Regions from separate parts of the Homo sapiens genome. Here regions 2 and 3 are each linked to region 1. Evidence: promoter capture Hi-C in human tissues and cell types (Jung and others, 2019). All regions are on one chromosome and are shown on one strand. Each heading gives the region's core, a stretch centred on a gene start or on the middle of the fragment in contact. The rest is flanking DNA. Distances are from core to core; before and after follow the strand shown.

Region 1 (2,700 bases), core at 122-2,621:
TTGCACTCACGGATCTCTGTCCATGGTGAAGTGGCCGAGTGCACTGGCCTGACTGTCCTCCCCACCAGCTTCAAGGTGTCCATTAAGCCAGGGCCATGACTGATCGGACAGAAGAGGGGTCATCCTGTGTCATCCTATGGGGTCACACACATGCTGGGCTGTGCCTTGGACCCAGTAACTTACTTTTTCAGAAGAAAACTGGTTTCTTGGGGACCTCCTGAGAGGACTGGGAGGGAATCCTCCAAAATGATTTCCAGTTCCCCGAACTTCATTCCTCCATTATTCTTGATGACTTTTTCTTTTTCTTTGAGACAGTCTCACTCTGTCATCCAGGCTGGAGTGCAGTGGTGCAATCTTGGCTCACTCACTGCAACCTCCACCTTCTGGATTCAAGCAATTCTTGTGCCTCAGCCTCCCGAGTAGCTGAGACTACAGGCTTGCACCACCTTGCCCAGCTAATTTTTGTATTTTTAGTAGCAACAGGGTTTCACCATGTTGGCAAGGCTGGTCTCGAACTCCTGGCCTCAAGCAGTCTGCCCGCCTCAACCTCCCAAAGTGCTGAGATTACAGGCATGAGCCACCATACCCAGTGGATGACTTTTTCTCTAATCACAAAAGAAACATACATTCAGGGTGAAAATGCAAACATCACAGAAATATAAAACTTAGAAAGTCTCTCCAGAGATAACTGCTATTAACAGTCTGATGTGTTTTCTTCCAGCTTTTCCTCTATGAATATGATCATGTATTATTATCTTCATAAATAGAATTGTATTACACAGGCTGTTCTGAAAGTTGCTTCCATTTATCATGATGCCGGGGACTTCTTTCCATATCTGTGTGCATTCCTGCTTCACTGGTCTTACTCGCCTCGTTCTTTATGCCAGTGGTGCTGGGTCTTTGGAGTTCTAAGCGCCTTTGGGTGTTCCATGAATGACAAATGCACACAGGCAGATCCCACAAATATATGACTCTGAGTGTCATAGACTTCCCGAGGCTGATCTACTACTGACCCCTTCACCCTGTGCATGGTGTGAGGATAGGGGTGTGGGGGGAAGATGGGGATCACAGAAATGGGTCCAGGAGGGTGGGAAGGACAGTGTGGGTGACTTTCCTATTGATAGGGAGACCCATGCCTGGGGAGCCTCAGTCAAAGGGGTCCTGGGTCACTGCCTCCACTGTGAGACCCTCTGACTCTCCTGAGCACCCACCCCTGGGCTCCTCCTCAAGCTGGGGGTTCCTCTCCTGGCATCCTCAGCAAGATCACCTGACTCCAGCAGCTGCCAACCCCCTGGGCAACGCCAAAGCCTCCTGGCCTCAAACGGGTTGGGCGACATTCACTTCCTCGCGCTGTCCTCCCGACCTGCTCTGTCATTAGGAATTGCCTCGGCGGTGGCGGTCACACTAACAGCAACAGGAGGAGATCGTGCTGCTGCTCAGCACCTCGGGGTGGCTCAGATCTGCTGGAGGCCCCAGGAGGGAAGGTGGATGCTGCTCTCTCCGGTCCCAGCTAAAGTGAGTCTAGGGGCCTGGATGGGCGTGGGGAAGGAGCTTGGCAATGTTGGAAGGTTGCCAACATTGGAAGGATGCAGGAGAATGAGAGAGAGAGAAATTGAGAGAGAGAGAGAAAGAGATACCTGTGGGTGAGCAACTAGTCACAGCTAAAGCTATAGGACCTTGCACTGGGGCTCCAGGAGGGAATCCCAGGTGCCTGGAAGTATCATTCTGTCCCACTGGCTCCTGTGCTGAGGTGGGGATGGGGGGTGTTTTCTCTGGGGTGGGGACACCTGCCCCCACACTCTGTTCCGGAGATGGGCTACTGCTGTGGGGGAGGCTCAGTACTGGGGCTTCCCAAGGTCAGCTCCCTTGGGCCAGCCATTGCCTTCCCCCTGCCTCCCAGGTGGCCAGAGGGGCATCCTTGTTTAGGGTCACTCTAAACCTAAAGAGGAAGGAACTTTGGGTAGTCACTTTTCTAACAGTGCTATTTCTTCTATTCCTTTGACCAAAGTCTGAAGACAAAGTCTTAAGCTCTGAGCCTCAGGTCCCTTATCTGTAAAATGAAGATAATCCCTACGCCCCAGCCTTGTTGTCAGGATCAGAAGAGGAAGGGATGCAAAATGCCAAGCATATAATTAGGATTCAATAAATGGTCGCTGTTGTAAATAATAATAATTATTTATTATTAGCTCAATACTGGTCCCACTTCACCTAGGAATACTTTCCAGCCCTCCTCTCCCCTCAGTTTCCTAAGGCACCAACAGGGATGCTTTGGCACTTACTGCATTCTTCTTCAACTCGTTTGTGCTCAAACTAGAGTATGTTCCTTGCATTTCTTCTGTTGCCCTCTCCCTCACCCCAGCATCCAAACAGAATCATACCATAAGAGGAACTCAAGGATGGGGAATGGAATGGGATTCAGAAAGCGAGAGAGGCAGAGGGAGGGGTCAGGGAAAGACTGAGAAAGGGAGGCAAGAAGGTGGGGAAGGAGGTAGCATCGTCCAGGTGTTGACGGCGTGGCTCTCCGGAAGCACGGGACGGGGGAAGGATTGCCCAGAGAGGCCATCGTTGGAAGCGGGAAGGACTGTCCAGAGAGGCCATCATTGGAAGGGGGAAGGATTGTCCGGAGAGGCCATCGTTGTAAGAGGGAAGGATTGCCCAGAGAGGCCATTGTTGGAAGGGAGAAGGATTGCCCAGAGAGGC
Region 2 (2,700 bases), core at 18-2,517, 1.1 Mb before region 1:
ACTAAAAGTGAAATTAATATAGCTTTTGTGATATACAGATTTATTTAAAATTTTTTAGTGCCTTCTGTGTAAAAAAATGCAATAATTGGTATTATGATAGTAGTTAACATCTTCCAAGTACGACATTAGACAGTTTGCACACATTTTACACATTGTTTCATCCCACCAGAATGCAAACAGCACCGATAACAAGAATCTATGCTTTGTATGGGTGGAGATTTTGGTCCATTTGTCTATATTCTATTTTTTCTTCATGCCCATTAATGAGAGCAATGCCGACTATATAATAACTACGAAGTAAATGTTTTTGGAATGAAAAATTATTGAATCCTCCAGCTACTTTCTGTTCATATGTTGCCAGTAGGTGATATGCTATTAGCTGTTCACTCCATATTGTGGGACAGCGTGTGTACAGCGAAGGGTGATTTTCAGTTTCTGCCTTCTGTCTAGTGGATATGCACCTTATCTATATAAAAGGTTAAATAATAGGGTAGCAATTGTTTCTGGATGATATGGGAGATGTGAACAAGGCTAGAAGAATTATAAATAATGGAGATATGAGTGAATATATATAAATCACCTGGAGCCGTGTCTGTACAGGGCAAATGCTTACTGCATGTTAACTGTTGTTATTGCTATTGTAACATCATTGTCATCATTTTGTTTTTTGTTTGTTTTTGTTTTGTTTTTGAGATGGAGCCTCACTTTGTTGCCCAGGTTGGAGTGCAGTGGCGCAATCTTGGCTCACTGCAACATCCGCCTCCTGAGTTCAAGCAATTCTTCCTGCCTCAGCCTCCCAAGTAGCTGGGATTACAGGCGCCCGCCACCATGCCTAGCTAATTTTTGTGTTTTTAGTAGAGACAGGGTTTTACCATGTTGGCCGGGCTGGTCTGGAACTCCTGACCTCAGGTGATCCACCTGCGTTGGCCTCCCAAAGTGCTGGGATTACAGGTGTGAGCCACCGCACCCAGCCTATCATTTTGTTTTAATTGACATATAATAATTATACATATTTATGGGGTACATAGTGATGTTTTCATACATGTAATATATAATGAGCCAGTCAGGATAATTAGCACATTCATAATCTCAAACATTTTTCATTTCTTTGTGTTGGGAACATTCTATATCGTCCTTCTAGCTACTGGAGACTTTATTGTTAACTGTAGTCATCCTACAGTGGTGAATAGAACACTCAAACTTATTCCTCCTGTCCAACTATAATTGTGTGTCCCTTAACAAATCTCTTGCTCTCCCCCTTCTCCCTACTCTCCCCAGTTTCTGGTGTGCTCTGTTCTACTTTTTACTTCTATGAGATCAACTTTTGTTTTTAGCTTCTGCGTATGAGTAAGAACATGCAGTGTTTAGCTTTCTGTTCCTGGCTTATTTTACTTAATATAATAACGTCCTCCAGCTCCATCCATGTTGCTGTGAATGGCAGGATTTTATTCTTTTTTATGGCTAAATTGTATTCCGTTGTGTATGTATACCACACTTTCTTTATCCATTCATCTGTTGTTGGATAGGTTGATTCCATATTTTGCCTACTGTGAATAGTGCTGCAGTAAACATGTGGGTGTGGATATCTCTTCAAAATACTGATTTTCTTTCCTTTGGATAAGTGCCCAGTAGGGGGATTGCTGGATCATATGGTAGCTCTAGTTATAGTTTTTTGGGGAACCCCCATACTGCTCTCCATAGTGGCTGTACTAGTTTACATTTCCACCATCTGTGTATAAGAGTTCCTGTTTCACAACATCCTCACAAGCATTTATTTTGTGTTTTTGATGATAGCCATTCTAAGTGGAATGAGATGATACCTCATTGTGATTTGGATTTGCAGTTCCCTGACGATTAGTAATGCTGAGCAATTTGTATATATTTGTTGGCGCATTTGTGTGTCATTTTTTGAGAAATGTCTGGTCAGATCATTTGTCTGTCTTTCACATATTTTGTGTATCTTTTTTTTTTTTTTTTTTTTTGGAAATAGAGTCTCACTATGTTATCCAGGCTTAAGTAATCCTCCCACCTCAGCCTGAGTAGCTGGGACTATAGGTGCATGCCACCATGCCTAGCTCATTTGCCCATTTTTCCATCCAATTATTATTATGATTTTTGCCATTGAGATATTTTGAGTTCCTTACATATTTTGCATATTAATCCTCTGTTGGATAAACAGTTTGCAAATATTTTCTCCTATAGATTGTCTTTTCACTCTATTGACTGTTTCCTTTGCTGTGCAGAAGCTTTTTAGTTTGTTGTAATCTCATTCGTTTCTTTTTGCTTTTGTTGCCTGTGCTTGTGAGGTCTGACTCATAAAATCTTTTCCCAGATCAACATCCTGAAGTGTTTTCCTTGTTTTTGCCTGGTACTTTTATGGTTTTGGGTTTTACATTTAGGTCTTTGAATCATTTTGAGTTGATTTTTTCCTTAGGGTGATAGATGGGTGTCCAGGTTCATTCTTATGCATGTGCATATTCAGTTTCCCAACACCATTTATTGAAGAGACTGTCTTCCCCCAGTGAGTATTCTTGGCACCTCTGTTAAAAATGAGTAGGCTTGGCTGGGTTCACATCTGTGATCCCAGCATTTTGGGAGGCTGAGGTGGGCAGATTGGAGTTTGAGGCCAGCCTGGGCAACATGGTGAAACCCCGTCTCTACAAAAATTATCTGAGTGTGGTGGCGTGTGCCTGTAATCCC
Region 3 (2,700 bases), core at 131-2,630, 1.1 Mb before region 1:
GTCCGGATTTTTTTTTTTTTCCCTCACCATGGGATAGGAAAGGAAGCTCTATTAACAGCCTGACTTCCAAATAGAGACTAAATGTAAAGAAAGATTATCTCTTTGGATGACTGATGGAGCAAAGAAAACCAGAGACCTTGAGATCTGAACAAATGGTCATTGCAACTCCATGTCATTGATCAAGTCAAGAAAGGTATCCAGCCATTACCATGTGAAAGAAAATGAAGCACAGCCTGTCCACACGTGGTTAGCAGTAGCAACCTGGTAGTTTCTCTCCTCAGAAGGTTTTAAAAGCTAGACAACAAAGAAAAATCAAATGAAAAAATTTTAAGGCTGCTGTCATAGTACTTTAAAAAAAAAAACATGAAATCTGTAGAAATAAGTAAAATGAAAGATGTATGAGACTTCTACACTGAAAACTATAAAACATTATTTAGGGAAATTAAGTAAAGCTGAAGAGATAAATAAAGAGTAGTCCCCTGCTTAAGGGCAGAGGACACATTCTAAGACCCTCAGTGGATTCCTGAAAGCTTGGGTAGTACTGAGCCCTGTATATGCTATATTTTTACTTGTGAATATATACCCATGGTAAAGTTTAATACTGTAATGGAAGTTATGAGAATGTGGTCTCTCTCTCTCTCTCTCAAAATATCTTATTGTCTATAATATTTTCGGAGTGTGGGTAACTGAAACTCTGGAAAGTGAAACTTTGAGTAAGTCGGGGTGGGGTCTTACCATGCTCAGATCTCTTCAGTCTCTGTGCCTTGTTCAGAGATTGGGAGACTCAATATTGTAAAGTCATCAGTTCCCTCAAGATTGATTTATAGATTTAGAGCAAACCCACTTACAGTCCCCAGCCAGATTTTTGTTTCCGTTTTGCCACTTGAGAAGCTGATTACAGCCACTGTTTATATGGTTAATGCAAAGAGATAAGAAAAGCTGAGACAATTTTTAAGAACAAAAAGGCCAGAGGACTCACATGACCAGTTATCCAGACTCACCACAAAGCTGTAGTGTGGTGTTAGCACAAGGATAGGCAGATAAACCCGTGGAACAAAAGAGAGGGTTCAGAAGCAGTCTAACACATATATTGTCACCTGATTTATGACAGAGGTAATCTTTTCAATAAATGGCATTATGTCAACTGGATATCCACATGGAAAAAAATGAATCTTGGCCTCTGCTATCACCCTACATAAGAAATAATTCCAAAAGGATTATAGATCTAAATGTGAAGGGTTGAACCAGAGAGCTTTTAGAAGAAAACAGGAGAACATTTTTATGATCTTGGGATAGCCAAAGATTTCTTAAACAGGCCACAAAACATACTAACCATAAAGGAAACAAGTGATAAGTTGGATTTCATTAAAACAAAAAATTCTTTTTATCAAAAGATACCACAATGATTGAAAGACAAGTCACAGAATGAAAATCTGTATTTGCAGGGCATATATTAATATTTGACATAGGAAATGTATCTTGGATATATGAAGAATCCCTATAAGTCAAGAAAAAGGCAAGCAACCTGTTAGAAAAACATAGGCAAAAGACTTGAATTTCACAAGAGGATATTCAATGGTTGATGAATGTAAGAAAAGGTGTTCAACTTCACTAGTCATCAAGTAAATGCAAAGTCAAGTCACAATGTCATTATACTACAAGAATGGCTAAAATTAAAATGACAGACATGTCAAGTGTTGCTAGGATGTGGAGCAGCTATAGTTCTCATATACTACTGCTGGGACTGTAAATTGTACAATCTCTTTGGAAAACCATATTTGCTGAAATGGAAAACTGTATTTGCTGAAATGGAACTATACAAAAGGCACGTACAAGAATGTTTATAGCAGTGCTGTTTTTTTTTTTTTTTTTTGAGACGGAGTCTCACTCTGTCTCCCAGGCTGGGGTGCAGTGGCGCGATCTCGGCTCACTGCAAGCCCCACCTCCCGGGTTCCCACCATTCTCCTGCCTCAGCCTCCCGAGTTGCTGGGACTACAGGCGCCCGTCACTGCACCTGGCTAATTTTTTTTGTATTTTTTTAGTAGAAACGGGGTTTCACTGTGTTAGCCAGGATGGTCTCGATCTCCTGACCTCATGAACCGCCCGCCTTAGCCTCCCAAAGTGCTGGGATTACAGGCGTGAGCCACTGCGCCCGGCCTAGCAGTGCTATTTTTTGTTTTGTTTTGTTTTTTAGAGACAGGGTCTTGCTACGTTGCCCAGGCTGGAGTAGAGTGGCTATTCACTGATGGAATCATAGTACACTGTAACCTCAAGGTCCTGGGCTCACGCGATTCTCCCACCTCAGTCTCCAGAGTAGTTGAGACTACAGGCGTCTCTGTTTACAGTGCTTTTCTTAGTAGTCTCACCTGGAAATAATCCAATGAACATCTATAGTATAATGAATAAATACATGATGGCATATTCATACAATGATGTCACACAGCAAATGAGAATTAACAATCTACAACTGTACACCACACTATGGATGGATCTCAGACATCATGTCAGACAGAAGAGTTTACACAGTTCATGCTATATGATGCCACTCCTATAAAGGTGAGACTTACAGTGTTATAAATCACGAAAGCGGTTCCCTTTGGGGGAAGTAGTGACTAGAAGGGTATATGACAGGGCTCCTGGGGTTCTGGTAATACTCTTTTTCTTGCTGTGGGTAGTGGTTAACTGTGGGTATTCACTTTG

The links. The method cuts DNA at HindIII sites, captures the fragments that hold promoters and counts their contacts. A contact is called where the count stands out against the background at its distance.
Region 2: a contact is called between a fragment that was not itself captured here and the fragment with the promoter of RNF222 in region 1, in 1 of the 25 tissues and cell types used here (lymphoblastoid cells).
Region 3: a contact is called between a fragment that was not itself captured here and the fragment with the promoter of RNF222 in region 1, in 1 of the 25 tissues and cell types used here (lymphoblastoid cells).

What each region holds. Positions count from the first base shown.
Region 1 is chr17:8,396,498-8,399,197 of GRCh38, reverse strand. It overlaps RNF222 (ring finger protein 222), which reads left to right and starts at 1,371. Exons shown (of 3, transcript NM_001146684.3): 1 at 1,371-1,503. The HindIII fragment of the contact is 8,302 bases long and covers 1-2,700 here.
Region 2 is chr17:9,512,596-9,515,295 of GRCh38, reverse strand. All of the region lies in intron 4 of STX8 (syntaxin 8), which reads left to right. Among named protein-coding and RNA genes, the nearest start is that of STX8, 62 kb to the left of the region's middle. The HindIII fragment of the contact is 3,350 bases long and covers 1-2,700 here.
Region 3 is chr17:9,529,484-9,532,183 of GRCh38, reverse strand. All of the region lies in intron 4 of STX8 (syntaxin 8), which reads left to right. Among named protein-coding and RNA genes, the nearest start is that of STX8, 45 kb to the left of the region's middle. The HindIII fragment of the contact is 7,559 bases long and covers 1-2,700 here.